6 separate regions of the Homo sapiens genome follow, and regions 2, 3, 4, 5 and 6 are each linked to region 1. The links are contacts of gene promoters, found by promoter capture Hi-C in blood cells and fetal thymus (Javierre and others, 2016). All regions are on one chromosome and are shown on one strand. Each heading gives the region's core, a stretch centred on a gene start or on the middle of the fragment in contact. The rest is flanking DNA. Distances are from core to core; before and after follow the strand shown.

Region 1 (5,178 bases), core at 1,810-4,309:
ATCACAAAAGATTGAATGCAAGCAGATATGAGAATCCTACTGTCTTCTATTAAGCCAGACATTAAAGAGATTTGCAACAATTTAAACAATGATACTTTTTCTTTTTTTTAGACTAGTCAAATGCTATACTTTTTCATTAAATTTTTTATTGTTGAAAAACAATAATATAAGCAACAGAAAAGATACTGTGTTAACATGTAACTATTATTGTCACTTAAAAACAAATTTATGAATATTTAACTTTTTCTGTTAATTTTTAATACAAAAATATTAATAGATATCACCCACATAAAGAAGCATCTCTGATGTACATAATAATCTTTCAAAGTTGTGAAGGGACCTTGAAATAAAAAAAGTTTGAGAACTGCTGATATAGAGGCATGAGAATGGTAACCAGTAGGGTAGCTTTAACTTCTTAGGATCTAAGCTCCATTAAACTAATTTTAATAAAATTGGTCTCCTTTGTGACAACTGATGAGTTGATGAAGAGTCTGGTAGAGGTGATCTGGAAGGGAATGATAAGGTGGAATTATAGCTGGGGACATGGAGAGAAATGATAGTCTCAGAAGGGGTGGTGTTTTATTTATTTATTATTTATTGAGATGGAGTCTTGCTCTATTGGCCAGGTTGGAGTGCAGTGGTGTGATCTCTGCTCACTGCAACCTCTGCCACCCAGGTTCAAGCATTCTCCTGCCTCAGCCTCCTGAGTAGCTGGGATTACAGGCGTGTGCCACCACATCTGGCGAATTTTTGTGTTTTTAGTAGAGACAGGGTTTCATCATCTTGGCCAGGCTGGTCTTGAACTCCTGATATCGTGATCCACCCCCCTCGGCCTCCCAAAGTGTTGGGATTACAGATGTGAGCCACTGAGCCTAGTGAAAGGGTTGTTTTAGACAAAGCTAGCCTCTCTCTCCATTCAGTTCTTCCCACTGTGTCGTACCACTTCCTAAGAGTGCTTTAGAATGTAGGGTTCTGATAATATAGTCGAAGAGTTTTTGTTTTATAGACATATCATACTTTTGGCATGCAATGGGGACAGTTCCTGGAAAGGGTCTGTTATCTGCAGAAGGCTATTTCACCACTTGAGGCTTTGAAGAACTGAAGATCAGCTGACTTAGTTTAAAACTATTCATGTTCCCAGCAGCTTTAGGATAGCAAACCAACTCTGGGTCATCTTTATTTAAAGCCTCTCTTTAATAACCTGTAGAGAGGGGCTTTTGTTAATTGTGACTAGTTCTTTAAGAGAAAGCGTAACGTGATGGTGTTCCTTTCTCTGTTCTCTCTTTAAAAATGGTTTAAAGAATTTACTGGGGTTGATTGATAACCAGCATTCACAGGTCAAGGCATGGGTCATAATCTATTTTCCAGTCTGCATATGTTGAAAGCGCCTTTGCAAAAAGGCTTTTTGCAAAGCCTTTTATAACTGAGGAAATTATGGCAGTGAATGAGAACAGACCTAACTGGCTCTGTCTTGCTTCTAATCTTTAAGCTGTCCTTGTTCATTCCTGGGCATATGCCAAACTAACTTTGGGAAGGAATCCAGTTCATGTTTTGACTCTGAAACAAAATTGGTAGTAGCCCTTTCCTGAATAGACCCCCTTCTTGCCTGGGGACCAGTCTGCCTTTGCAGGACCAACAAATTAGCTACAAGATTAGAAATTATGGTTTAGGGGTCATGCAGCCTCTGGCTCCAAGAGTCTGAACCTCCCCAAATTGCTCCTGGGGATAACATCACTATTGTAAAACCTAAGATCAGTGCTTGAGATATTTTGCAGAGCCTGGACTCGGTGGATCAGCTGATGCCACACAGACCGGTAATTGGGCTCACCCAGTTCTGCCATCCCACCCAGGAACAGAAGACAGCAAGAAAACCTCACGTCGACCCCCCATGATTCCATCTCCAATCTGACCAATTAGCACTCCCACTTCCCAAGCCCCTACCCGCCAAATTATCTTTAAAAATTCTGATCTCCGAATCCTGGGGAGACTGTGTTGAGTAATAATAGAACTCCGGGCTGGGCGCGGTGGCTTATGCCTGTAATCTCAGCACTTTGGGAGGCTGAGGCAGGTGGAATCACTTGAGGTCAGGAGTTCCAAACTAGCCTGGCCAACATGGTGAAACCCTGTCTCTGCTAAAATACAAAAATTAGCCGGGCGTGGTGGCGGGCGCCTGTAGTCCCAGCTACTGGGGAGGCTGAGGCAGGAGAATCGCTTGAACCTAGGACGGGGAGGCTGCAGTGAGCCGAGATCATGCCACCGCACTCCAGCCTGGGCCACAGACAGAGACTCCGTCTCAAAACAAAACAAAACAAAACAAACAAACAAACAAAACAAAAAACTCCGGTCTCCTGCACAGCCAGCTCTGCGTGAATTACTCTTTCTCCATTGCGATTCCCCTGTCTTGATAAATCGGCTCTGTCTAGACAGCGGGCAAGGTGAACCCACTGGGCAATTACAATGTCACTCAAGGTCTGAAATGGAATGTTTAATATTTTCAATTACATTAAAGAGAAGAAAAAAAGTAAAAAACAGGAAAACAAAAAACAAAATAAAAACAAAGATTGTTAAAAATTCAATTACATTGTCTTTTCCTAGCCCTAAAATTTTTCTTTTGCAAAAGAGTCTTGTGAAACAGATTAAAGGCTTAAAAAGAAACAAAACTCCTAAATTTCAGGGGTAATTTGCAAAATAAAAGATTTCTTTTGCATTATATCATTCACACTGCAGAAAGGTTTCGGTTCTATGCAATCTGATCTTTTTCCACTTTTTAAAAGTTAATTTGCTTTTACTTAGCACTATTATAGAACAGGTATTTTCAAATAGTTTTGCAATTAAACACAAAAACTATAATTTTTGTGGCGAAGTAGGTACTAGTTGGCAAACACTGTTCCTTAGTGTAAAACAGAATTCTAAGTTTTCAGAAATGGAGTCCTAAAACTAGCACTGGTCTTGCAAATCAAGTTCTGCAGCTTAGTTTGGGAAAGGTTCCCTTTTGGCTCAAGGCTTAACTGGCTCCACCCAGCTGCTGAAATGTGATACAAGTTGTAACAAAACCGGAAGTTGGTTAGGCTGCCTTCGCTTCTCAAGGTAAGTGTCACGTCTTTTTCCTTAATGTCAAAGCTCTTTGTAAAGCGTTAAAAATCAAATCCAGCTTAGCGACAGACTGGAGAGCGAGTGCCTGTGCTGACCAGGGCAGTCGGCCAGGCAGAACGGGTGCTGTATTCCGAAACTATGTTCTGGAGCTTGAATTGAGCTAATGAGTGTTCACTAACGAGTTAGGTTAATATGTCCTGTGACTTTGACTAACAAGCTTTAATTCCAAGATATGGGTGGTTATAAGTAGAGACGTGTTTGGGATCCTGAAAATCATTGACTTTATTCTTGCAGGAGTTTTTTTTTTGTTTTTAATTTTAAATTTAAAACTGTAGGAACTCTTTTTTTATATTTAAAGCTAGTGGCATGGTTACCTATATCAGGGTCACTTAGAACCTTATTTGGTTTTTAAAGTGGCTTTTTATCTAGAACTTTTAGTCCCCTTACCCTCCCACTCCCTAGCCCTGGTGTGTCGTTAAAATTTCAGAAAGACTCCAGGGTGGCAAGGTGTTATCACTGCACTTATTTTTGTGTGTGCTTGTCATACTGCCCTAAAGGGTAAAGGGGATTTTTCAAATTGTAAATGTGTTATTAGGAATATTTCTTAACATAGCTAAACTTTTCAGTTCAGATATTTTCATTTGCTTCTGTATTTTTATTTTTTATTTTTATTTATTTATTTATTCATTTATTTTTGAGACGGAGTCTCGCTCTGTCCGCCAGGCTGGAGTGCAGTGGCGCGATCTCGGCTCACTGCAAGCTCCGCCTCCCGGGTTCAAGCGATTCTTCTGCTTCAGCCTCCTGAGTATACTGCTGGGATTACAGGCGCCCGCCACCACGCCCGGCTAATTTTTTGTATTTTTAGTAGAGACGGGGTTTCACTGTGTTGGCAAGGATGGTCTCTATCTCCTGACCTCGTGATATGCCCGCCTCCGCCTCCCAAAGTGCTGGGATTACAGGCTTGAGCCACCGCGTCTGGCCTATTTATTTATTATTTTCGAGACGGAGTGTTGCTCTTGTGGCCCAGGCTGGAGTGCAACGGCGGGATTTCGGCTCACTGCAACCTCTGCCTCCCGGGTTCAAGCAATTCTCCTGCCTCAGCCTCCTGAGTAGCTGGGATTACAGGCAGGCACCACCACACCCGGCTAATTTTGTATTTTTAGTAGAAACGGGGTTTCTCCATGTTGGTCAGTCTGGTTTCGAACTCCCAGCGTCAGGTCATCTGCCTGCCTCGGCCTCCCAAAGTGCTGGGATTACAGGCGTGAGCCACCGCGCCCAGCCACTTCTGTATTTTTAAAAAAGTGGTAAGATTTGAGTATTATACTGGGATAGAACTGAAGTTGGGGGCTTAATTTGATCTATCAGCTTATTGAAAACAAAGACCTTTTAAGAGATGGTTTTGTTAGGTTGGAGAAGTGAGTTTTAGTTCGTCATTTAGTTAGCCAGTATGTTGATTTTTTTGGTGAAGTGTACTCTCTGTTTCACACCTGTCAGCTTTTTTAATATTGGATTTTCTCAAAATTCACATAACAATCACACTGTATGAGTACTGTTTTGAAGGTTGTCTGCTAGTCAGAATGAATGGAGATCAATGTGTAGGACACCTTTACTGATATCCAGAGGTTTACCAAAAGACAAGTCACCAAATGTGGCAGAAAAACATGATAAAATTTATTAGGAAAAACTAAAGCTTATGGAGTGAACAGTTATTTCAGGTTGGTGGAATTAGGCAAGAATCCAAGAAAGGAAGACAGTTTTATATGGGAGACTTTGTTAATGGTGGTCATTGTGCTAGATATTTTGGAGATAGTATTTTATTTAATCCTCATGCAAGCCATTGATATTGGTGGCATTGTCTCTAACAAGTGAGAAAACTAAGACTCAGTAAGGTTAAATAATTTGTCCAGGGTCACTATGGTGGTGCCTGCTGGATTACATTAATGGACAGATTCAAACCTAGGTCTGTGATATTTCAAAGTCCATACACTTCATTGTATCATAGGACAGTAGTTGACGGCGTTTTAAATGGATCTTGAAAGAGGGGTGAAGGTCTTCTTTATCAAAACAAACAAAAATAGTAAAAGT
Region 2 (5,178 bases), core at 939-3,438, 770 kb before region 1:
CCAAAATGACTTCGGGCGCCCCACTTAAAGAGACGCCTTGGTTCAGGTAGCCCGCTGGGGTCGAAGGCCCCATTTTCCCCCGATCTATCGGGCTTCGCGGCGGAAGTCTTCGTTCAGGCAGGGGATGCCCTAGGAGGGAAGGAGGCGACGGTGCCCAAGGACGTCGGAAGCCGGGGATCTCCGCTTCCCTCGGGCCCCGGCTAGGTTACCAGTGCTGGCCCGCGGCGCGGGTGCCCAGTTGCGCCTGGGACACTGCGGGCACGGCTGTGGCGGCAACGGCAGCGGCCGCCGCGTCGCCGACGCCCGGCAGGACTGAGCGCACGGAGCGGCGGAACTCCTCGTTCCTCCACGTGTAGAGCAGCGGATTGAGCGCGGACAGGGCGCAGCACAGGAGCCAGCTGGCCGCCTGCACTCCCCAGGGCACCGGCAGCGAGAAGCCGCTGGCCAGGCTCACCCACACCAGTGGCTGCGTGGCCAGCAGGAAGACGCAGCAGAGCAGCAGCACCGACAGGCCGCTGAGACGCCGCTGTGCCCGCCGCGGGTGCAGCGCGGGCGGCAGGGGCTGGGCCTGCGCCGGGTGCGCGGCGCCACCGGGGCCCGGCGCGTGCTGGGCGCCCGGGAAGGCGGCGGCGGCGGCGGCGCAGCCGGGCAACTGGTGCAGCAGGTGGAAGTTGAGCACGCTGACCCGCTTGACGCTGACACGCACGCGGCGCACGATGCCCAGGTAGCAGTGCAGCAGCAGAGCTGTCTGCGCCAGCAGCGCCGCGGCGGCCAGCAGCGCCGGGTAGTGGACTCGCGGTGGCGCGGCGCCGGGCCGCGGTGCCCAGGGCGGGAGCAGCAGCACGAGGCCCAGGGCGAGCGCCCAGGACAGCGCCAGCATGCCCGCCGTGTGGCGCCTCTGGTACAGCGCCTGGTAGGTGGCGGGCGCCCGGGTGATGAGCAGGTAGCGGTTCAGGGCCACGAGGCAGTGGGAGAGGAGGGACACCGTGAGTCCGAGGCCCAGCAGCCCACCCCGTAGCAGGCGGTAGCTGCCCCCAGCGCCGTCCCAGTCTGCGGGGGGCTCCGCAGAGCCGGTGGGCAGGAGCCCGAGCACCGCCTCCTGCGGCATCCAGAGGGCGCAGACGCTGAGGTCGGCGGCGCAGCCGTTCACGATGAAGGCGTTGCTGGTGGTCTGCAGCTTTCGGAAGGACGACACGAGATAGATGACCATGCCGTTGGCCAGCGTGCCCCCGATGGCCAGGCCCGAATACAGGAGTGACACCGGGATGCGCCGGCCCGCCCACGACTCCTCTTCCTCGCAGAGCAGCAGCAGCGAGCCACCGGTGGTGGAGGAGGTGGATGTGGAGGAGGAGTTGGTCATTCTGGCCAACTCTTCACACCTCCCTCGCTAGCGTCGGCTTCTGGCAGCGCGGTCCATCCTGACACTGTCCTGCCTGCCAGAAGGGCAAAGACATCCCTTCAGCCCTCTGCCACTGACACAAAAGGCTGAAGCAGAATAATGGGCTGGGGGAGGGGGAGAAAGGGAGCTCGAGGAGGAGGACGGGGGTGGCAGATGACAGGTGCCTGCCTCGGAAATGTCTCCAGAGCCAGGGGAAAGGCCACTTTGCATTGGATTCAGCAGGTATCGGGGAAGCCCTAGGACAGAGCAATACCTAAAACAGTCTCCTCTTCTCCCCCAACACACACACACACACACAGAGAGAGAGAGAGAGAGAGAGAGAGAGAGAGAGAGAGAGATATGTTGCCAGCTGGAGGACCTAGTTCCAGGAGAAAGCAGAGATATCCCAGCTGGGGAAAATCCCATGGGAAAGAGGTGAAGGTTACCTTGCGTTTAGGCTGGTCCTTAGCCGGTGTCTCAGGGGGAGGGATGCCGGGAAATACCTCCTCAGCAACAGCATCAGTGGTCCAGAAATCAACAGGAGAAACTCAGCTGGGATCAGTGCCAGGAGCAAGTGCCCGCTTCTCCCAAGCAGCATCCACACACATGGTCCTGGGCAGGAACTAGCAGCTGCAGGGAGACTTCTCAGCTGGTATCAGGGCTGGAGAAAGTAAAGTGGCGGGCTGCAAGCCCAGGCGGGTGGGCAGGCAGGCAGCAGCAGCAAGAATGCTTGGCTGCAAAAGCAGAAGCTGAGCTCAAGAGGAGAGCACCCTGTGCTCAGAAGCAGGAGTGGTGGCTGATGTGGTGAACCCACTCGAAGCTCTCTCCTGCTTAGTTATACATCATCCAGGGAAAAGACAGCCTTTCCACGCTTGGCATGAATTATTCAATAGCTTCCAACTTGTAAAAGGAAGAAAAATATCTTGCTCAGAAAGTCCTGTCGTTAACAAGTTTCTCTGTCTTTTCTCTCTCCCAATCACCTTATTTTTCATCCTGTTTCATTTTTCTTTCCGTCCTTTTTTTCCCTCCCTTCAATATTAGAATAAAATTTAATATACCCTAGAGTATTTCATCTCAGTCTGATGCATTTTGTGGGCAAGATTTTTCTGTGAGATAAATATATTCCCAGTACCCAGGACTGATCTCTTTATTCCCACATTTTTTAACGAGAATTACTTTATGCACTACTTGAAATTCATTTTTCTTTGGTAAAGTGGAACATAGACAATTATCCACAGAAAATCTCCATTCCTCAATTTAAATCGTACTTTCAGTGTTTTCTCATCAACAAACTCCTTTCCGGAGTTTGTTTTGTGTTTTAGTAATGAAATGGTTAGAGGGTAAAAATGAAATGGGCAAAAGATTTAAAGCAGATGTCAGTGGTACATCTAGACAATGGAATATTATTCAGTGCTAAAAAGAAATGAGCTGTCCAGCCATGAAAAGACATGAAGGAACCTTAAGTGTGTATCACTAAGTGACAGAAGCCAACTGGAAAGGACTACATACTGTATGCTACCAACTATGACATTCTTGAGAAGGCAAAACTATGGAGACAGTTAAAAAGACCAGTGGTTGCCCGAGTTAGGGGGAAAGGAGGAATGAATAGATGATCACGGAAGATTCTTAGGACAGTGGAACTACTCTGTATGATACCATAATAGTGGATCTGTGTACTTATAAATTTGCCCAAAGTGGCAGAATGTGAAACATCAGTGTAAGCCATGGACTTTGGGGAATGATGTGTCAACGTACATTCAATTGTAACAGACGAACCACTCTGGTGGGGGATTTTGATAATGGGAGAGGCTATGTATGCGAGGGGCAGGGAGTACATGGGAAATCTCTGTATCTTTCACTCAAATTTGCCATGAATCTAAAATTGCTCTAAAAAAATAAAGTCAATTTTAAAAAAATGTGTGTCAGGGGGAAAGCAAGAAACCTGAATAATCCACAGTGTGAACAAAGATGACTTTTCACTTCAGAACTTTTTGTCTTGTCTGTCTTGGAGATTTGCAGTCTGATGTTGGCATCTTCTTTGGTGCAAGTGTTCATTTATCCATTCCATGTGGGAATTTTTTCAGAAAAGGAGTTCTCTCAATTATTCACTGGAAAAGTCATGTATTTGAAAATGTAACTCAATATGGGAATATGGTAACATGGCATAATAGAAAAAAATGTTAGGTGGGGTTGCAGCACACCCAGATACTAAGCCGAGCATCCATCATGTAGCCTTGCGATGGATTATTTTCATCTTGTCAAATAAGTTCACAGTCAGTCACTTCAAAGGCCCTTTCTGTTAAAACTTTCTGTGAATCCCTATTCATGAATTTAGCATTTCTTCTCTCTAATTATGACACATGGCATATACCTCTTCTATCTAACATGCATTGCAGTTGTAGTTCTGGGTCATATGTCCCTAAGAGCAATGTTTCAGGAGAGAGGTCAAAACACAGCTTCTCTGCTTTTCTTTTTCTATTTCAAAATCAATATGGTTAGTTGATGACTTCAAGAACTCTGATGAGGATTAAGGATAAGCATGACTTGATAGATTTGGTCCAGCTAAGCTATATCTGAATGAAATTGGTTGGGGCAGGGGCAGGGGCCGGAGGGGGAAGTGAAAGAAAAGAACCAGTGACTTGCTATTCAGAGGGTTGAAGGTTTCGATATCAAGTTTACTGATGTAAATGAGATGAGTATTTGTCATCATCTTTTTGCCTATTGCCATTTGTCCTTATTGAGGTTTTGAGTGCATTAAGCACAGCAAGCCTGCATTTCTCCTTTCTAGTTATGACACATGGCGTATACCTCTTCTCTGTAACATGCATTGTAGTTCTGGCCCATATGTCCAGGAGTCTTTTCCACTCTGTCCCTAAGAGCAATGTTTCAGGAGAAAGGAGACTCTCCTAATCATTCATAGTTAAAACTTGCCATTGAAGTAAAGTTTTTTCTCTCACATTAACATAGTCCTAAAGGACTCTCTGATAGAATGTGGTGGGAGGGTATTCAAATTCTGGATCCCTGGTCCCAGCTGCCACTTTGTGTTGCCTTTGAGACGAGCAGCATTCCTGCTGAGGGACTCCAGTGCCTGGCAGTCACACACACTTCCTCCAAGACCATGCCTCCCTTAGCGCTGGCCTGACAGGGGCCAAATTTTTGTTTGTTTCTGGATTTGGTTTTCCTTTTGTTTTAAGTTAATGAACTTACATAATATAGGGTGGGAATTTTTTCTATCTTATTTCCAGCACCAGGTCAGTGCCTGGGACATAGTAGAAACTTAATCAATACTTACTGAATTAATAAGTGAATGGCAGTGTAAATGATTTCATTTATGTTTTCTCCACGGTGAAACAGTAATTCACTTTTATGAGCATCTCTTTCCTCCCACCTTCAGCAGGAACTTGCCCCATCAGTCATCTGCTTTCTGCTGTCTCTTGTCAGTCTCTCTGCTCTCCACTGCTTGCTCCCCTTCAGACTTACAAAAATGCTGATTTCACCACAACCTCATAAAACTCCCCTGGAACTTCACCTCCTTCTCATGGTGCCTACACACAGCTCACTTCCCCTTCCTGATGGAAGTGCTCATTTTCTCCTTCTACTTCTGATTTTACCATTGAATACCCACCCACACGGCCCTTAGCTCTCCCTGCTCCACAGAAACAGCTTTGGCCAAGGTTAACAGTAGCCTCTCAGTAGCAAATCGTGACTCCTAAATCCTTGCCCTCTACTTTGACTCTGTGAAGAACACCCTCCTCCTCAGTGCCATTTCCCTCCAGGTTTCCCTTTGCTTCTGTTCCTCT
Region 3 (5,178 bases), core at 930-3,429, 750 kb before region 1:
AGGTATCACATGGTTATCCTACGGGGTTGTGCTGACGGTCTCTCTGGGTCATTTGTACTCAGCCACAGTTGAGGAAACCTCAAGGAAAAACACAAGTACTCTCCATTTCAAATCTTAGACAGGTTAGATAGATAAGCCAGATGAGTGCCTGGTGGGACCTAATACACATCGTAACAAAGCATAACTTCATGCTTTTTTTGTAGTCACAGGTAGGACTACCAACTATATACAATGTTTTCCAAATGTCCATGTATTGTAAAATTACTAATATCCCAGAAAAGACTATAGCCAGTTACTGGCATTTTTAATTTTTATAGTAAAATTACATTTTATAGTAAAATTGCATTTGCATTTTGAATTCCATGAACAATATTATTGCTATTGATTTTCGTATTCAAAAATAGATTAAATACAACTAGCTGAACTTCTTAACAAATTAGATATATTACTTGACACATCAATTATTCTGAACTAGATATTTGAGTACTTCCTATATGCTAAGGACAGTTCTAAACATCTTATACATATTCACGCATTAAATGTTTCAGACAACCCACTTTACAGATGAGGAAACTGAGGCACAAAGCAGTAATTAGCCCCAATTCATGTAATTAAGAATTGGTGGAGCTGGAATTTGAACCCTAGCAGTCTGACTCTAAAGCTCAAACCCTTAGCTACCATAGTTTAATGTCTCAAGACAGCGAGCATTTGCCTTGTGATCACTACATATTCAATCCAACATTCTCTATCACCCTAACATAGACAAATAATGACCTTAGGCAAGATATGATTCTGAGTGAATAAAAAAAATTATTAAAAAATATTTGTTGCATTAAAAGATAAATACATTTTTGAATGATTTTCATCAGGCCTGAATTCAAAGAATTTTCAGGAATATTCTAAATTTAAAAGAAATTTTCATTATAAGAACATCCATGCTTAAGTATTATGAGTTGATTAAAGTTTTAATTCTGATTGGCCAATGTTTTTAGTTGTTACAATAATGAATTAATGAATCTGAAATACAAAATAAATTATAACAATGACAGTGAAGATGGTTATAAAGAAAGTGAAAATAATTTTTATACCTGAAGTACAAATATTATTTTAGAAGTTAGCCCTTGTTTATATAACCAAGAGATTTTAATTTCTCAAATATAATATTCAAGCTCATTTAATTAGTAAGCTCAACAGAGTTATAGTGAGTTAGGACCAGATCAAGTTTATTATGAATATGTGGTATTCTTATTGTATGAATACCATAAAATTAATAATGTAGCAATATTCAACCTGAAAAATAAGGATAAAATTGCCTTACATTTGCAGCCCCCAAAATTTTTATGTCAAAATATAAGCTTCCATCAAGAAGTCTTGTTCCCTGAAAGCAGTAAGATTTGACATAAAACAAAGTGTTAGGTAAGGAGATCAAGACAATTTGTTCTGTTCTGGAAATCTGCTACTAATCTGTTTTGGCAGATGTAGGTAGTAACTTTAAAATTTTAGCTATTCTGGAGGTGTTTCTTTTTTAAACAGCCCAGTTACCTAATCATGGCAGGAACATGTCTAATAATTACAGATATAAATATTGTACAGATGGTTAATAAATAAAACATGTTAGCTATCAAAAACAGCAAATTATAAAGAATAATGAAAGATTAAGGTCCTTGACAGCAAATGAATGTAACGATGTCTTAATGTTCAAATAACTTGAACCAAAGGATCCAATGGCCTGGAATGTTAGCATCCTACTAAGGTCAAAATCCTGATTCAAAATGTTCATGGACTTTTTTGCCACACTGACATTTTCTTTCCTACATTTTCCCCAGTCCTTTAAGGAATAAACAATAGTGTACTAGTTATCCCTGGTTTAAGTTCTAACCACAGAGGCAAAAAGAACCTAAAATAAAAATGGTTTGTTTTAATGTGATTGAAATTAAAGGAAAAAATACATGCTTGGCAACATGGTATTTTATATACATAACTATAGTGTTTTAAGTTTTAATGAACAAATACAACACTGGGGAAAAATAAATACACCCATAACTGCCTCTGTACTCCTATGTCTCTTTAAGCCTTTGTAATAGAGTTTCCAGTTTTTGTATTGCTCACAAATTAACACATAAAATGTGTGCATTGATACTTATTTCCATAACTGTGGTTTCACAATACTGAAAGTATTTTTTATTTTTTATTTCAATAGGTTTTGAGGTACAAGTGGTTTTTGGCTACATGGATGAATTGTATAGTGGTGAAGTCTGTGACTTTAGTGCACCTGTCACCCAAGTAGTGTATATTGTACCCAACATGTACAATACTGAAAGAATTTGCCTCTGTTAATATGATACATATTTCCTCCAATAACACTAGATGAAATGTAGCTGGGTATGGTTTTATTGGCATCATATTAAGATAAAAGGATGAAGGTTTGTGTTAAAATCAGGTTCGAAAGGTGTGTGTGCATTTTTCCATAGTGTTCTCTGTGCATTTCAGGGACTTCAAGACTTAAAAAGCCAATTTGGGCTCATTATAATGCTATATAAAATAGTCTTTCACCTTCCTACATGATTTTTAATAGATTCTTTTTTCTGGAGAAATTTAATATATGCTTTTCAACAATCACAAAGAGCTCAATTGTTAGATGACAGATTGTTGACACCCAGCTTGACTCAGCCAACCATTACATGAGTGTTTTCAGTTCATCTGAACACCAAAATTATATTGATGCAAACTCAGTTAAAATTTATTTTCTCTTATTTTAGTAAAGCCACATTTCTAGAAAAAAAATACACAACTCCCAGATTACCGTATATTAAAGCTAAAGCTGGAAACTTGTTTGTTTTCTGTTAGTGCTTCATATGCTAACAATGAGACCCAGGCTCCTAAACACTTTAACATTCACGAACCCAGATACATTATCTGACTTTTAGTTCAATAAGTATTTATTAGGCACTTATACTGTACTGTGGAACCTCAGGAAACAAGAGATGTTTCTGAGAAGCTTAAAGGAAAGCAGAGGAGAGAGAGAATCATGTATAACTGACTATAATATGAGAGTGTCAGCGCTCCTAGGAGAGTCGAGAAAGGAAGAGCCATTCTGTTTAGATGGGTCACAAATGCTTATCAAAAAGATAACTATCGAGCCAGGTCAAGAAATACAAAATCAAGCAGAGAAACAAGGGAAAGCAGAGTGGACTGCAAGTGCTAGGGTTCAGGCTTAAGGCAGGTCGTGCCAGGTAGAGCTGCTGGAGAGGAGGCTGGCAGGGAGGCACACAGCCCGACAGGGAAGAACCCTGAATGCCAAGCCAGGGGAGCCAGACTTGACCCAGTAGGCAGAGTGCAGCCACTGAACAAAGCCAAACATGAGAAGGATTTGATTAGCTCTGTGTCTCAGAAATTTAACACTGGCAACAGTATAGAGGAAAGATTAAAGGTAAGAGACAGGAAGACAGAAAGGGCTATGCGATAGTTCATGAAGACCCCAATTAAGGCAGCAGTGGTAAGAATGGAAGGACAGAGGCATTTTAGAGGGAGACTTGATAGGACTTAGTGACTGGTGTGACAAGGGAAAGGCAGGCAGAAGTAGTGTCAAAGCTGACTCCAAATGTCTAGCTTGGATGACTGGATGAATAAAGATGAGATTATTCGGCTAGGAAACCAAAGAGGAGCTGGCAATGGAAGGAACCTGTATTCTCTCTATCCCAGGTAACACCCAGAGGAAGCTGGGAGTGTAGGTCCAATGCTCAGGAGGTTACCCAAAGAGAAAGAGCCAATGTAAGGACAATCATTAAGGGGCAGGCTTAGGAGTAGAAGGACTAACAGGAGCCCATCAGATCTGGCCTTGAAGAAGTCGGCAGTAATCTGCGGGAGAGACTTTCACCAGAATGAGGGGCCACCTCCCAGCTGTAGAGCGGAGGAGTATCAAAGAGACAAGGGAGGGGGAAGTGCAGGCTTCTCTTTCCCCAAGTGTGGCCATAAAGGAGAAACTGTGAGAGGAAGACAGGGCCAAGGGAAGACTCCTCCCCAGCCCCCACCAGCCTACCAACTTGGATGTGCACATTTGCAGTTGAGGAGACCTGCAAACGGAGGGTAAGAGGCTGAAGATACAAAAGGAGAAGGAAGTGGTTAGGGCAACTTCATGAAAGATTCTGGAAAGAACAGTACAGGTAGGTAGAGTTATCATTGGAAAACAGTAGAGTTTCTTTGGAATTAAAAGGGAAGGAAGAAATGGATGAGTCCAGATGCAGATAAACTTTGAGACAGAGAAGAGGGAAGTTAGAGGAAATTACTTCTGATAAATTCTATGTTCTTAGCAGATCTCAAAGCAGGGTCAGCTGGCTCTGGAGATCAGGAAGGGGTTGTGTTGGTGAAAAATGTTAAAAAGTTTTGGAACAGCCAGGTGGGGAAGAGAAAAGGAGCCAAAAAGGGATAAAACAACTAATTAGGAGCACTGAAGGGCCGGGTAAATTAGAAACACATTTGAGATGGAGCCAATTGGCAAAGTTATAGGATTTTCTCCAACAGTGCTCACAGGAGAGAGATGAGGAACAGATACAACAGATGGTTGAATTGATCTAATTTTGGAGGCTGGTAATCAAGTGGTTACAGAATGTCCAAGTAGCAGTGAGAATGTTGGAAAAAGGAAGCAAAAATGACTATGCAGGCTGTAGAAGGAAAGAGGTGAACTGAGATGGCTGGGGAAACAGGCAGGGTCAGAAAGAGGTCATGGAGCAGAGTTAGGAGGAGGGGGAAATGTTTAAAGGAGGCTGGCAGGATTCAAGATGTCAGAAGCAATGTGCTAAGCAATAAGAAGGTTTATTCAATGAATTTTCAAGTGAACAAAAATAAAGATAACTGAGGTTAAGAAAGTTTAAAATAAGATCACTGTGACACCTTGGGCAAGTTATTGCCATTCTGAGTCTTGATTTCCCCATCTGTAAATAGCAGGTTAAATAAATAAGATAATGGATATAAAGTACCTAATACCATGCCAGGCACATAGAAGGTATTCAAGAAACAGTGGATGATGACAATGATTAGAAAAATGTTACAGTTGTCCAGAATGTTGGCAGTGCCCAGGCAGCTAAAAAGTAGAAGCAAAAGTCTTCCAGGGATGAAGGGAGGTGATAACAGTGATGAGGACAAAACGATATGAGTATCCTTGGATGATGTTTTCAAAAG
Region 4 (5,178 bases), core at 1,071-3,570, 710 kb before region 1:
TGCAAACATAAAGGAATACTTTAAAAAAAAAAAACACACTCCACAAACATAATTTTGACAATTTAGATGAAACGGACTAATTCCTCAAAAAACAAACTACCATAATTCACCCAATATGAAATGGATTATTCAAATAGCCTTATATCTATTAAGGAAATTGAATTCATAATTTTAAAAAGAAATCCCCAGGCCCAGATAATTTCACTGGAGAATTCTACCAAGCATTTTAAGAATTCACACCAGCTCTCACAATCTCTTCCAGGAAACAGAGAAGAACAATTCCCAATTCATTTCATGAAACTAGTATTATCCTGACACAAAACCCAGACAAAACAGACAAAAAAAAGAAAACTACAAACCAATGTTACTTATGAATATGGACATAAAAATTTTTAACTAACAGAGTTCAGCAATATATAAAAAGAATTACACACCATGACCAAATGGTGTTTATTCCAGGGACATAAGCCTTCTTCAATATACAAAAAACAATCGATGCAATCTACCATATTAACAATCTTAAGAAGAAAATCATGTGATCATATCAATCAATGCCAAAAAAGTATTTGACAAGATTCAACACTCATTCATGATAAGAACCCTCAGAAACACAGAAATAGAGGGGAACCGCCTCGACCTGATAAAGAACATCTATAGAAAACCTCAATTAACATACTTAATCCAGGTGAATGCCTGGATGCTTTCCTTCCAAGACTGGGAGCACGACAAGGATGTCTGCTCTTATCACTCTTACTCATCACAGCGCTGGAAGTTTTAGCCTGTCCAACAAGGGAAGAAAAGGAAACACAAGGTATATAGATTAGAAAGAAAATAAAATTGTCCTATTTGTGGATGAAAAAGCAATCCCCAAGAATTTGCACATACATACACACACACACACTCCCATATAAAACTCCTAGGTTTCGGGATACAAAATAAACAGAAAAATCAATTGTGGCCAGGCAGGGTGGCTCACACCTGTAATCCCAGCACTTTGGGAGGCCGAGGTGGGAGGATAACCTGAGGTCAGGAGTTCAAGACCAGCCTGGCCAACATGGTAAAACCCCATCTCTACTAAAAATACAAAAAATTAGCCGGGCGTGGTGGCACACGCCTGTAATCCCAGCTACTTGGGAGGCTGAGGCAGGAGAATCACTTGAACCCAGGAGGCAGAGGCTGCAGTAAGCCAAGATCGTGCCATTGGACTCCAGCTTGGGCAAAAAGAGTGAAACACCGTCTCAAAAAAAAAGAAAGAAAGAAAAAGATAAATCAATTGTATTTCTACATACCAGCAATGAACATATGGACATAAATACCATTTATAATTGCTAAAAAAAAATAAGTACTTAGGTGTAAATTTAACAAAAAAGGACTTGCATCCAGAAAACTACACAATGCTGATGAAAGAAATCAAAGAAGATCTAAATAAATGAAAAGACATATCATGTTTATGGATTAGAAGACTCAACAATAGTAAAGATGTCAATTCTCCCCAAATCGATATAGAGGATTAACATACTTCCTATTAAAATCCCAGAAACATTATCTGTAGATTTAGACAGGCTTACTCTAAAATGTATATGAAAAGGAAAAGAAAGTGGAATTGCTAAGAATATTTTGTTAAACAAGGAGAAAGTGGAAGGAATCACTCTTCCAATATTAAGGCTCACTATATAGGTCCAGTAATCAAGAGAGTGTGGCATTGAAGGAAGGAGACACATAGGTCAATGGAACAGAATAGAGAACAAAGAAATAGATCAACACAAATATATCCAAATGATTTTTGATGCTGCTATAGAAAAAATTCAGTGGAGAAACTGAATTTTCAACGAAAATGGTACTGAAGCAACTGGGCATGCATAGGCCAAAAAAAAAGAAGCTTGACCTAAGTCTCACACGTTATGAAATAAACAAAAACCTCAAAATCCATCACAGACTTAAATGTGAATGTAAAACTATAAACTTTTTAGAAAAAAAAATATGAGAAATCATTGAGTCTAGGGCTAAACTAAGAGTCTCAGACAATATCAAAAAGAAAAAAGTGATAAAAGGGATTTCATCAAAATTTAAAACTTTTATTCTGTAAAAGACCCTATTAAGAGGATGAAAAGACAAGTTATAGACTGAAAAAAACCTTGAAAAACATTTACCAGACAAAGGACTAGTATCTAGAATATACAAAGATTGACCTTAGTCATCAAGAAAAAGCAAATTAAAACTATAAAGCAAGTTATCACTTAAAAAATCTAATGGCTTAAATTTAAGAGACTGACAAACCATTGCTGATGAGAACATAAACAGGCATATCTACTTTGGAAAACTGTTTAATAATTCTAACTCTGAATGCACACATACCCAACTGTTCCACTCACAGGTATATCTCCAACAGATAGCTGTACCAAAAGATAAGAAATAGCTAATGAGGGTGAATCGCTTTTCGTATGTTTATTGGCCATTTGTACATTCTCTTCTATGAAATGTCTTTTCATGTTTCTTACACATTTTTTATCAGATTGTCTTTTTATTGTTAATGTGTAGGAGTGTAAGTATTCTGGGTACAAGTACAGTGCCCATTATTATGTGATGTAAATATTCTCCTACTCTTGTGGTTTTCATTTTCACTCTCTTAATAGTGTCTTTGATGAAGAGAATTTTACAATTTCAACTCAGTTATAGGTAATGCTTTCCATGTACCACTTAAGATATCTTTGTTAACTTCAAAGTATGAATACATTATTTTATGTTATCTTCCAGAAGCTTCACTGATTTTTCTGTCACATTTGAATCAACAACTCATCAGGAATTCCTTTAAAAAATAGGTTGTGAGATAGGAGCCAAGGTTCTTCTTTTTCCCCATATAGATATCCAGTTGACCCAGCAGAATTTACTAAAAAGACCTTTTCCTGTTGCTCTAACATGTCACCTTTATCATAAATCAAGTGTCTGTATATTTTTGAATTTGTTTCTGCACTTTATATTCTATTCTATTGGTTAATTTGTCTGTCTTGACACCAATATCTCAATATCATAATTGCTGCAGTTTTAAAATGAATCCATATCTGGGAGTGTAAATCCTCCAGCTTTGATCTTATTCAAGATAATCTTTATCTTTTCACTTATTTATATCTTCTTTAATTTCTCTCAATAAAAAAAATTCTTCGGTTTTCTGTGTAGAGATATTGCACATCTCTAACCTGAAGTTACCAGATACATTGTAAATGGTATAATTTTTTAGGTTTTATTTTCTAATTGTTTAAGGCTAGTATATGGAATTACAACTGATTGTGCTCCTGTGTAAACACAACCCAAGATAAGATACAGAACATTTCCAACACTCTAGAAAGTTCTGTCATGCTTTTTTGGGGGGTCAGTTTTCCCTGACACACCTCAGAAGCAATTGCTTTCTGATTTCTATCACCACAGAATGGTTTTGCTTGTTCTTGGGCTTTATCTATACAGCATGTATTATTTTGTGTCTGGCTTTTTTTTTCCTCTTACAATAATATGATATTCATCTATGTTGAGTATATCAGTAATTCATTCTTTGTTATTGCTGGCTAGTATTTCATTTTATGAACATATTATGATATATTCACTCATAAATTGTTGACGGACATTTGGATGATTTCTAATTTTGGGCTACTATGAATAAAGCAACTGTGAATATTCTTGTACAAGTCTTTGTAGACAAATGTTTCCATTTCCCTTATTTAAATACCTAGAAATGAAATCATTGGGTCATAGAGTTAAATATAGATTAACGTTATGAGAAATGGCCAAACAATTATACACCAATTGGTTAACACATGAGAGTTCCAGTTGCTCCATATCTTTGCCAGCATTTTGTAGTAAAACTTCTTTTTTGTTTGCCATTTTGGTTGACATAAAATAGTATCTCATTGTGGTTTCAATTTCTATTTCCCTGATGGCTAATGATGTTGGACATCTTTTCATATACATATATTACCTTCTATGAGATATCTGGCCAAGGCTTTTGCCCATTCAAAAATTAATTTTTAAAATTGCTTATTTATACTTTTTAATATATGTGTACAAGTCTTTTGTCAGATATATATACTGTGTGTCTTTTAATTAGCAGAATTTTAAAATTTTGCTAAAATTTCTGAAAACTGACTTTGTATCCTGCAATCTTACTAATTTCACTCTTTAGTTCTAAGTTTTTTTTTCTTTCTTTTTTTTTCATTGCACTGGTTAAGATTTCCAGTATAATATTAGAAGTAGTGAGAGTAGACACCCTTGTTTTGTTCCTGATCTTACAGGAAAAGCATCACCATTAAATATAATTTTAGCTATAGAGTTTTCATAGATTATTTTTATCTGAATGAGGAAATTTCCTTCTATTTCTAGTTTATTGAAAGTTTCTATTAAAAATGGGTACTAAACTTTGTCAAATTTTTGTACATCTATTGGGATAATCATATAATTTTTCTACTTTTTGTGTTAATTTGGTGAATTATATTGATTTTCTAATATTGAGCCATGATGGTCATGATGCACTATCTTTTTTATACAGCTGGATTTGATATGCAATGTTTCTTTAAGAACTCTGTGTTTATGATCATGAGGAATATTCACCATCTGTATATCATTTTGGAGGACTTTCTGTTCAAATCATTTACTCATTTTATATTAAGTTGTTTTCTTGAGTTTTGAGAGTTCTTTATATACAGCTTAAGTATCTATAAATTTAAAAGCCTTTCTTCAGCCTAGAGTGCCTTTGCCTCATAACTCTAATTTCTTCTCTTACTATTTTGAGATATGGCAGAGAGAAAGAGTATAATAGGGAGGTTGGAGGGAGTATGCAGCCATGAAACATGAGGGCTGTGTTATCTGACACCCTGAGAAAGCTAGGTGACCTTGACTGGTAGAATTCTCTGCTATATCTCCTCACCTTGCGAGCTGTACTTAGCAGAATGCCTGGGGCAATAGGTATAGCAATACCTATTAAATGACAAGCAATAATTTTAAGACATTGATTAAATGGCTTAAAGAACTAGGCTTAGGAGTATTTGGTTTTTTAACCCTAAGACCATTTCTTCAACTTCAGCAATTAGTATAATGAGAACCTGGCAGATACATGGCACAAAGCTCCAGGCTACAGGCACATAAAATGCAAAACAGAGAAATAGAGGAAGACAATGAGAATCTGATCAAGAA
Region 5 (5,178 bases), core at 930-3,429, 680 kb before region 1:
CTAGAATAGAAATGGTCTTTCCCCAAAAGAGCACCCTTTAGGTGAAGATAGCAATAATGATAACCTGTGAATTGCTTGAATATCTCAGGAACAAAATAGTCCACATTTCAGCCTGTCATGGATCAGTGAGAAATTTTGTATCACAACTAAATTGATAAGCATAAAAGTAGGGGCTTGAAGCAAGACTCAAATATGGCAACTTCTGCAGAATGAGGCACAAGAATACATGGATTCTATGGTACCAGGTGACAAGAGCAAAGGCTTTAACCCTACACATGGAGAGATGATATTACTGGTAGCCTCCTAAAAAACAAAAAAAGAAAAAGAAACATTGGGCCTAGCAAATATATGGAGCAAACATGAGGCATTTAATATCTGTTCAACAAATGAACTGAAAAGCTATGAGAATGAGGCCATAAGGAGCATGGTGTGGCTACTTGACTTTCAAATAAGAAATGTTCATCTGCACATCATTATTTCTGTAAAACAAAGCTTCCTAGCCAGTGTGACCAGAATGGAGCTGCCTGGGCAGACTGGAGCAGCCAGAGTCCCCAGGCCACTTGCCAACAGCTATGAGCTATCATCACAGGGTGTTGAGCAAATATTATCATTTTCTCCATATGCCATGATGAAAAAACAAAAGGAAGCCCTGTGCGGTGACTGTTGTCAAGGCAGTAACAGGTGCCTCTGTCATCAGGCCTGCAGGCCAAATGTGGCTCTAACTTCTATCAAGACAATGGTAAAGAAGTGGCCTGGGTTTGTTCACATTTAAAAGTATAGGATCAAGGCCACAATAGCTTGATATTCTGGAAAATATTCTCATAATTTTGTTTTTCACACCCAAAAAAGGAATGAGTTATGGCAGGGGGCAGATAATGGCAGCTAGAAAATAGCTCAAAGAAAAAAAGTCAAAGTACTTTCTCAGTTTTGAAGTCATTTTTCAACTTTTATCTCCACCTAATCCCCAAATAGATATTTAAGGAGACTCCTTGAAATTGCATGGGCTGAATTTTGAATGGGGTAATAAATGTAAGCCACAGTGATGAGGAACCTCCGATGTTGCCACTGAAGCACCATTTCTCTGCATTTCTTCCCCCAAACCCAACTAAGAACAGGACACTGCTACCGCATCACACTTCCATCATCAAACCATGGCAAGCCTTTTGGTAAATAGCGGAAAGCCCTTGGGGACAAGCAAAATAACAAACTAGAGACATAACTTCAAATTCTCTCTGATAAATAATAACTGCTTAACAGTAGCATCATGAATGATCACTGGTGTTTGGGCAACATCTTGTTTGGTAAGGACAGCTACCCCCCAAAAAAACAGAAGAAAGCTGACTGAAGGTAGACTCTGTATATGGGTGCCACTTCCAGGTCTTACAAGCAGAGTATCAGCCTACACTAGCATTCACCACTAACTTTACTACTGAAGAGCATAGTTCCTCACATACCTACAGCTACCTAATTTAATTGAATGTTCAAGCTCTATCATCTTCATTATTTTTCCCTAGGACAAAAGGTCAACTTTCATTTTTCTGAACTAGATTTGAAATGGCTAGATTTCAAAGGAGTAAAAGTTCTCAAGGTTCTCAAGGTACATATTCTTTGAGAATACCTTAAGAAGCTGTTGGAGAAGTACAAATGTTTTGACACTGATTCCTAGAGGAAGGTTTTGGACCACCATCTCACAGTTACTTTTGTGGACCTTCCCAGCATAGCTGCCCAAATTTCATGTCTGATCGGGGCAAATGTAAGGAACTGTACAGTTCCACAACAGCTTGCTAAAGGACCTGGAAAGACCACATTTTGGAAGATACTTTTCCAAGACGGAAGCCAACACCTGGTGTTGTTTATCAATACTTAATACAATGGGCCATTTTTAAGTCACATGAAAATAAAGCAAGAGCCTGAGGTATCTCACCTCGAGCTTTCTAAATAGAACAGGGCTTTGAAATTAACTCTCATGTGAACCACAGATCACATGAAGCAAGGAGATATAACCTAGGCTTCATGTCACACTGATGGACTATGACAGTACATTGGCTAGCCTGTCCTTACAGAATCCATACTCTAGCTACATGTGGCTACTATGCACTTGAAATATGGCTAGTCTAAATTAAGATATGCTATAGTATAAACTGCACACTGGAGGCCAGGCGTAGTGGCTCACACTTGCAATCCCAGGACTTTGGAAAGACAAGGTGGGCGGATTGCTTGAGTCCAGGAGTTTGAGACCAACCTGGGCAACATGGCGAAACCCCATCTCTACAAAAAAATACAAAAATTAGCAGGGCAAGGTGGCACACACCTGTGGTCCCAGCTACTCTGGAGGCTGAGGTGGGAGGATGGCTTGAGCCCAGAGGGTCAAGGCTACAGTGAGCCTAGGTTGCACCACTGCACTCCAGCCTGGGTGACAGAGCGAGACCCTCTCTCAAAAAAACACAATAAATAAAATAAATAAACTACACACTGGGTTTCTGAGGCTTAATTCAAAAAAAAATGCAAAATACATACATCATTAATAATTTTTGTATTGCTTACATGTTAAATGCTATTTTAGGTATATTACTAAATATGTAAACAACATATTTACAACAAGTAAAATGTATTGTTAAAACTAATTTCATGATATGACTTTCACATTTCTATTGGACAGCACTGCTTTAGACCCTGGAATTGCAGGAGGAAGATGCATATAACCTTTTGCAGGATGGGCAGAGGTTTATCTGTAGACTTTACACAACAAAGCATTTCCCACATTCTGTTGACCTCATCACTAGAAGCATTTATAAGTAGCACTCTTTCTATAAGATTCCCCTTTAATCTCACATAGAGATACAGTCTTATTGTTTTAGGCTTTTTTGGGGTTTTTTTGTTTTTTGTTTTTCTGAGCCATATCATTTACTAAATGTACTTTAGCAAAGAAAAGTTGCATCTTGAACATCCCCTAATCATCTAAGGCTTACAGTCTCACAAATTGCTGTCAACAATAAAATTTTGCTTTGAAAACTACACTGCCTTCACTGGAATACTGACTTTACTGGAGCTAATAAAATGTATGAATTCAGCTATTCCACAAGTTCACCAAATATCATACTCACTAGAACAGGGCAAACAGCAAGAGAAATCTGACAGGAAATGACTGGGCCCACAGATTGTCAGAAAAGAGTTCCTTTATTCATTTATTCCTTAAACATTTAAGAAATTAAGAAACTAAAAATTAAGAAATACCTACCACCTGCCAATCACAATAGTGGTTTTCTATTTTATAGGCTTTATAATAGAACAGATAAATCATTCTCAAAAAAAAGAAGTTGTTTGACAACATCAAGTCTTCACCAAAACTGACTGCTCCCCTCCCATCACCTAGATGGTTGTTGTCAAGGTGAAACCATGACTACCTTCTTGTCAGATTTTTGTTTGTTTGGCTGGTTGGTTTCCAAGAATAAAATTGCACTGTCTGCTTCAGGTTTTTCAAGATTTTTTTCAACTAACCCTCAGCATCACCATTAAAGTTAGACAGAGAGGAAGGAAGGAAGGAATAAATAAAACATCCACAAGTTTTCTCCTTGAATTGTTCCTTCTTCTCTCTCACCGCTTCCAACCCCCTCCTGCCTCCATCTCTCCTTTAATTGAAATGGCTTTAGTGTTTGGCTGTATATTTAATAATTAATACAATGGGCCATTTGCATTCTTCATGTTCATATACATGGGGCAGAGATCCAGGTTTTGGTGGGGTCTGAAACTCACCTAATTTGAGGGTCCATCTTAGAGTAAAAAATTATTAACACAAAATTGGGTATAGGACTGTAAAAGGTGCCCATACAAGTTGAGGGGGTGAGGCTCTCTAAAATTTAAGCTTCATTAGCTTCAAAGTAAGTCACCTCTGGTCATATAATGTAGACACCTAGATGTGTGGGCTAGGGAGTGTCTTACTATTGTTTGTTTTATTACAAAGATGGATTTTATTAAAGCACTCTTCCATATCCTTTCTCTTCAACAAACATTATAGAAATCATTCCAAGATAAGTGGTATAGCTCAATTCATTTTTTAAAATGACTGCATAACATTCAGTGATTCAGATGTACTACAAGTTATCTGACCTTCTTTCTTATAAGTACATATTCCCTTTGTTTCTAACTTGGGGATTTTAGAGGGGAATCTTACTTTGTCACTACTAAAATGCTTTTATGGTATTAAAAAAAACTCTCTTTGGGTTTTTTTCATAAATTGCATTAAATGTATTAATTTTGGGAAAAGTAGCAGCTTTATGATGTTAAGTCTTTCTATCCAAGAACAAAGTATATGTTTTTCTATTTGGTCATAATTCCATCCACAGGGAATTTGCAACCTAATAAGGAAAATTAGGCTTGTACACAAATAGCCATGATATAAGAAAAATGGAAAGTACAAATTGTAACACATGAAATTGAAGGCAGGGAAGAAGAGTACTCCAGAGGTGAGATGTAATCTGTGCAGGATTTTAACACAAACGAAATGGAGGAGCGGGAGGTTAAAAGGATGGGAATCTGGGAAAAAGCAACCTCAGCCAAGCAACAGGGATATTCAAGAAACAGTAACTAAGCAGTTTGAGGAGCTGGAACACAGAGTACGTACAGTGAAGTAACAGGAGATGGGGCTAGAAGGGTAGGCTGGAGCTCATCACAGCTAAGAATGCCAGGACAGGAGAGTTTATCCACATTTCAGCAGGGCAATGGGAGAAACAGCCGGTTTGGGGCCAAGAACAAGACAAGCAAGATGAGAACTCTATTTTAGGATCACTCAGGTGTGTGTAAGGCAGCCTGGGAGGAGAAGGGCCGTGCTCAGTTAGAGAACTATTAAAATGAAAGGTCCACAGGAAAAGACGTGAGACCTGAGTCAGAGGGAAGGAAGTGAGAACAGAGAGGAAAGACAGATATAATTAATACATCCTGTGGCACCAGTAGAAGTGATCCGAATACTCACTAGGTTAGGGAGGAAAACAGCAATGTTTCTAGCCTTGAGGCTGGGTGCTCAGTAGGATGGCAATGTGGTAACACACACAAAGCAGAGGACCATGTTTGGGTAAAAGATGATCAGTTTCTTTTCAGATATGTTGCATTTAACATGGAAACAGAATATCCAAACAGCCCTATTCTAGACTAGGGCCCCAAATGTGAGGGCTGTCCTTATCT
Region 6 (5,178 bases), core at 1,373-3,872, 650 kb before region 1:
ACCTTTCACAACCTGAAGGTAGGTATTTGGGCAAAGTGGGGAAATGTTCTCCTGATGAGTGAGTGCATTACTGCATGAATGCATGCTGGGTCATTAAAATACCAAATTCGATTTTTCCAGGACAAAATATGTCACATATTCTTATGCCAGATCTTCTTAGACATGTCTGCTTATTAAAAAGAGAGAGAGGAGAGAGACAGACTAGGCTAGATTAAAGCTCAGAAGAAAAGTGACATTTAGTAAGAAAGGTAAGGAACTTTCCAAACTCGCGTTGTTGCTCTAGGATGAAAACAGAATTCGAACAGTGGGCTGACTCCAAAGCCCACAGCAATTTCATCATATCTGCCTGAAAATATAAACTCAGTTGGTAGCATAGGTCTGGAAAAAAGGTTTCCACTCTTCCAAGTTCCTAAATGCCATTTCATTCCATTTGATTTTAAAACTTAGGGGACTTCAAACTGTTAACAGTTTGTAGTCACATTTGAGGAAAAGGGCAGGGGAAGGATCAGAAGGAGAAAGAGGAACTTTCTACCTTATAGTTCTACTATCAACACATTGTCTTTTTCACAGACATACACAAATCTGTTTTTTAAATGTGAAGTAAGTAAATTAGTTATGCAATGTCAAATGTGTACTCTTTCTAAAAATAAAATCCATATTTAATGCTCGAAAATTTGTTGCCAGATATTCTAATATTTCTAAAAATATTTTTGCCTTCTCTCAGCAGAATCATAAAAATATTTTCTGAATGAAATTAATTTCAAAGCATCTTCTAAATATCTTGATTTTTTCTCTTGTGCTCCTAAGGGGAAAGAAAGAATATGCTGTCTACTTTTCTCGCTAGGTATTAACATATATAAACCCAAACCAGAACTTTCCCCAAACTTTTGACTAATACAACTTAACAAAAGCATTTGCACAGATAATGTTTGGTGTACCACATCATTTTAGTGGGTGGTACATGCACGACTTTGATAAAATTGCCCTACTTTTGCCAAGAAGTCCTAGAAACCATATTAATAATATAGCATTTAACATATACTTTTATTTTTAACTGAGCAGGAGTCACCCAATTAAAGTGACTTTTTTCTGTTTAATTAACTTCCAGGTACCAAGAACTTAAATAACTTTTAGTTTCTTTAATAAAAGCTTCTTAAAGAGCCAGTATCTTAACATATATATTATCAACAGCTATGAGGTTTTATTAAACAGCGTAATAAAATTTACCCTACTACAAACCAGCACAATTTATATTGTTTACCAGTAAGCCAATGTTGCCCATTAGTTAATCATGCACTTTCCCAACTTCTGCCGTAGGTACCACCATGTACTACCATTCATTCTTTTTAAACACACATTTACTTTTGACTTAAATCAATTTGATGTAAAATGTTTTATATCATTGCTATAAATGGGAAAACCCGCCACTGAGTCTATACATAAATGAATATTAAAATGCATAACTCTTATAATTTTAAATATTTGTGTTTACTACACCGTGAGAAACAATGTAACAAATATCAAGTCTGTACTAATTTTATAGAGGAACACCAGACCAACATGAGAAGTTATATAGAATCCTCTTAGAATTCATCTGCAAATACTTCTAAATCATTTTTTTAAACTAAATCCTGCAGTCATTAAATCCTTAATACCTGCTCCAAAATAATATGTGAATTTCTGAAGCATTTTGGAATTTACAACTGTATTTCTCTACTCAGATAATTCAACCTCTCTGATACACAAGGGGAGATTCTTAAAACAATAAATGGCTTCATAGAGAAGTCTCAACCAGACTCTGGGTCATGAATTTGCTAATGATCTTTCTCTGGGGACATTTGCCTCAAACTTTACTATGTTTTTAGCTTTGTTTTTAGGTGCTATTTTTCCTCCAAAAAAAAAAAAAAAAAAAAAAAAACCTTTTCAGCAAAGCATAACACACACACACATACACACTATATATATATATATATATGTGTGTGTGTGTGTGTGTGTGTGTGTGTGTGTATATATGTATATATATATGTATATATATATATATTTAAAAGTGAAATCTGTGCCCCTACATTAATTATATTTATATTTTGTGACTTGGAAAGTGAAAATACTCTTGAGGATTCAATTTGGCCATCTGAAAGAGTATTCTTCAATTTTATTTGTTTAATATTTTACTTGTGTGAAAAAGAGGAAACAAATGCTGACAATAGCCTTTCCCAGGTAGGTGCTGCCACTGGAACATTGGCACGATAGCTTTGAAATTAACATTTCAACCATGTCTTAGTCAATTAAATTCCTTCAAAATACAATTTCCAGAAAACTGATGTTACAACTTTAAAATAGTCTTAAAGCACTATGATTTACCAAATGTGGAAGACTTATGCCAAAAAAGGAGAGACTCCATTTACAAGTTTCAGACAACTAGGTTTAGAATACACAGAATACTAACTGTGGACATTACAAAGACATCACTATGATGTGTGCTTTGGGCTGAAGCCCATTAATCAGCAGAAATGCTGAGTCCTTTCCTTAGCACTGTGTAACTTACAATTATCATGCTTGCAAAACTGCAATTGAGGATGGGGGTGGGCAGATATAAGAAGAAAATGTTTCTTTTACTGGTGAAGCTAACCAGTGCAGAGCACTCACTTGGCTTGAAACTACCGCACCCTAACTGGCTGCTCCCAACATCCCCCTTTCTCATGAGGGGTTCCTCCCAGTCAGCCAGACCCAGAATCTCAAAAGTCATCTTTGACCTTGGCCTCTCCATCACGTGATAGCCACATCAAGTCAATACCCAGACTGATTATCTCTTCACAGTCACAGTCAGTCTCTCTCTTTTTATTTATTTTATTTTAGACAGGTTCTGGCTCTGTCACACAGGCTGGAGTGCAGTGGCACAATCTCAGCTCACTACAACCTCCACCCCCAAGGCTCAAGCCATCCTCCCACCTCAGCCTCCCAAGTAGCTAGGACTACAGGTACACACCACCACATTCAGCTACTTTTTTGTATTTTTCGTAGAGACAGGCCTTCACCATGTTGGCCAGGCTGGTCTCAAACTCCTGGCTTCAAGTGATCCACCCGCCTCAGCCTCCCAAAGTGCTGGGATTACAGGCGTGAGCTACCACTCCTGGCCATCCACAGTCTCTTTCAATTATGGGGTAGATCCAGGTTTGGGAGCCTGAAACACATCATTTGGGGAGCAAAGACGGAGGATACAAACATCTTTTCATATTTTACAAAAAATTTTCCCTTCAACAGCTTGAGAGACGGAACTAAGCAAGAAAAGGCCCTGAGTCTTAAATTTCATTAGTTCCGCAGTGAACTACCTGGACCTTTCTTCCATGACAATCATCATCACGTTATTTCAAACCCTTATCCAAACCCTTATCACCGTACTCTAGGACTAACACCATTTCTCTCTGCCTCCACCTCCTGCCTACTCCAGTAGTTCCAGAGCAGGGCTCGGAAAGTCTCAACCCTGCTCAAAAAGCCCAGTCCAGACTGCCAACCCTTCACCAAGATATCGTCCCAGCCTGCCTTTTCAGGTAAATTTGTCATTTTTCCTCAAATGAACCCTACCCGCTAGCCTGGACTCCTCACCCTTCCCTAAACATACCTGATATCTCTGGTATTTGAGGTTGTTGTTGTTTTTCTGGAATACTTTCCTCACCATTTCTACCTATTAGACCTATATTTCATTAGACCTAAACTCAAATACTATGTCCCATGATGCCTTTCTTCTCCAACTCAGAACCTTTTCCCTTACCCTTTAGACTCCAGAATATGACACTCAACTATAGGTGATAATGATCACAATAATGACAACAATAAAAACAAAAAGTTAACAGTATATACCATGTGCCAGGCACTCTTCTAGGCATTGTACATAACTTGGTTCATTAATCCTCACATCACCCCGAGTTAGGTTCCATTATTATTCCCATTTTCATTTTACAGGAAAAGCACTGAGAATTAGTTGCTCAAGGTCACACAGTCAGTCTGGCTCCCTCATAGAAACTCATAAGCACATCCTGATGGGCCCCTCACAGCTCTTTTGTAATTAGTTTCCTTTAGACTAAAGTGGAAAGCTTCTGGAGCTCAAGTAACCAAGCTTCCCATACCTTTATAAACCTTCAGATGCCTCCTGTCAGATAGATGCTCAGCAAAAAACCTATGTTTAATGAACAGCTACTTTAAACATATAAGGATAAGAATGCATCTACCCAAAAGGGTTAATTCAGCTTAATTAATAATTGGTGAATGAGATTTTAAAAGACTATATCACTACAACTATAGTGGGAATGCCCAAAAGAGGGGTAAAATGAACTTTCTCAGCCCAGTTGTATGAAAGCATCAAGCCAAATAGAGTCAATTCACCAATGATGTGCTTCAAGAGAAAGCAATAGACTGATTTTAAAAAATAAAAGCTCTAGGTCATATGATTTGTATTTGCTTATAGAAAGTATTTAGTCAAGGCATACTCCCTCATCCAAATATTCACTCTCCCACTTCCTCTGTGTCTATTCTGAAGCCACACTCAGCCACTTCCAACATGGGATACAACGCAGCCAGCAGGAGGTGGAACAGAGCACAAATCACCACAGATGACTGTAATTCAATCAGCATATATATTTACTTAACGCTTACAATTTGCACAGGAACCTGCACATATACGAGGGCACAGAGATAGTCTGAAATCTCCATTATGGAGCTTAAAGACACTGACTTCAAGGACTCTAAAGGGGGCTGGGAATGGCCTATGAAGTGACCAGACTCAACCTGAGCCTACCTTGCATCATCGCAGTGTTTAGATGCCACCTCCTCCGTTTCCTTGGGATCACAGCTCTAAAGTGAGACAGTCTTTTTGGCAACCCAATAAGATCAGGCCCCTGCCTTATGTTCTCAAAGCTCTCTGCCTTCTCCTTCAAATTCGTATACCAGTTTGTTTCTGTGGTTATTTGATTGAGCCTGTCTCCCCAAGTAGGCTGTAAGACTAATGACAGCAAGGTTTCCATCTCTTTTTTATCTGCAGGACTCAACACTATGCCTGGCATGTAGCACACACTCAAAAAATGATGGACGATTGCACAAATAGTGGGCGTTTTATACGAGGGGAAGCATGACATAGACACAGGTTCTTTCCCCATTAGTGGCATGAAACTAACCCTCTATGCT

What was found. The method cuts DNA at HindIII sites, captures the fragments that hold promoters and counts their contacts. A CHiCAGO score of 5 or more calls a contact.
Region 2: a contact is called between the fragment with the promoter of GPR88 here and the fragment with the promoter of FRRS1 in region 1, in 1 of 17 cell types (M1 macrophages). The highest score is 5.9, in M1 macrophages.
Region 3: a fragment that was not itself captured here is called in contact with the fragment with the promoter of FRRS1 in region 1 in 1 of 17 cell types (erythroblasts); the score reaches 5.6 in erythroblasts.
Region 4: a fragment that was not itself captured here is called in contact with the fragment with the promoter of FRRS1 in region 1 in 2 of 17 cell types (erythroblasts and total B cells); the score reaches 5.5 in erythroblasts.
Region 5: a fragment that was not itself captured here is called in contact with the fragment with the promoter of FRRS1 in region 1 in 1 of 17 cell types (erythroblasts); the score reaches 8.4 in erythroblasts.
Region 6: a fragment that was not itself captured here is called in contact with the fragment with the promoter of FRRS1 in region 1 in 1 of 17 cell types (erythroblasts); the score reaches 6.2 in erythroblasts.

What each region holds. Positions count from the first base shown.
Region 1 is chr1:99,764,516-99,769,693 of GRCh38, reverse strand. It overlaps FRRS1 (ferric chelate reductase 1), which reads left to right and starts at 3,059. Exons shown (of 17, transcript NM_001361041.2): 1 at 3,059-3,087. The HindIII fragment of the contact is 6,315 bases long and covers 1-3,312 here.
Region 2 is chr1:100,535,149-100,540,326 of GRCh38, reverse strand. GPR88 (G protein-coupled receptor 88) reads right to left here and starts at 2,188. Exons shown (of 2, transcript NM_022049.3): 1 at 1,825-2,188; 2 at 1-1,433. The coding sequence starts at 1,360. The coding sequence ends at 206. RefSeq lists a silencer at 627-796 and enhancers at 66-914, 1,067-1,466, 915-1,764. The HindIII fragment of the contact is 8,214 bases long and covers 1-5,178 here.
Region 3 is chr1:100,510,069-100,515,246 of GRCh38, reverse strand. All of the region lies in intron 15 of CDC14A (cell division cycle 14A), which reads right to left. Among named protein-coding and RNA genes, the nearest start is that of GPR88, 25 kb to the left of the region's middle. The HindIII fragment of the contact is 1,643 bases long and covers 1,358-3,000 here.
Region 4 is chr1:100,469,466-100,474,643 of GRCh38, reverse strand. The region is part of intron 10 of CDC14A (cell division cycle 14A); the gene reads right to left. Among named protein-coding and RNA genes, the nearest start is that of GPR88, 66 kb to the left of the region's middle. The HindIII fragment of the contact is 878 bases long and covers 1,882-2,759 here.
Region 5 is chr1:100,443,974-100,449,151 of GRCh38, reverse strand. All of the region lies in intron 7 of CDC14A (cell division cycle 14A), which reads right to left. Among named protein-coding and RNA genes, the nearest start is that of GPR88, 92 kb to the left of the region's middle. The HindIII fragment of the contact is 3,370 bases long and covers 495-3,864 here.
Region 6 is chr1:100,416,861-100,422,038 of GRCh38, reverse strand. All of the region lies in intron 4 of CDC14A (cell division cycle 14A), which reads right to left. LOC105379827 (a long non-coding RNA gene) reads left to right here. Exons shown (of 3, transcript XR_007066254.1): 2 at 3,449-5,178. Among named protein-coding and RNA genes, the nearest start is that of CDC14A, 67 kb to the right of the region's middle. The HindIII fragment of the contact is 2,942 bases long and covers 1,152-4,093 here.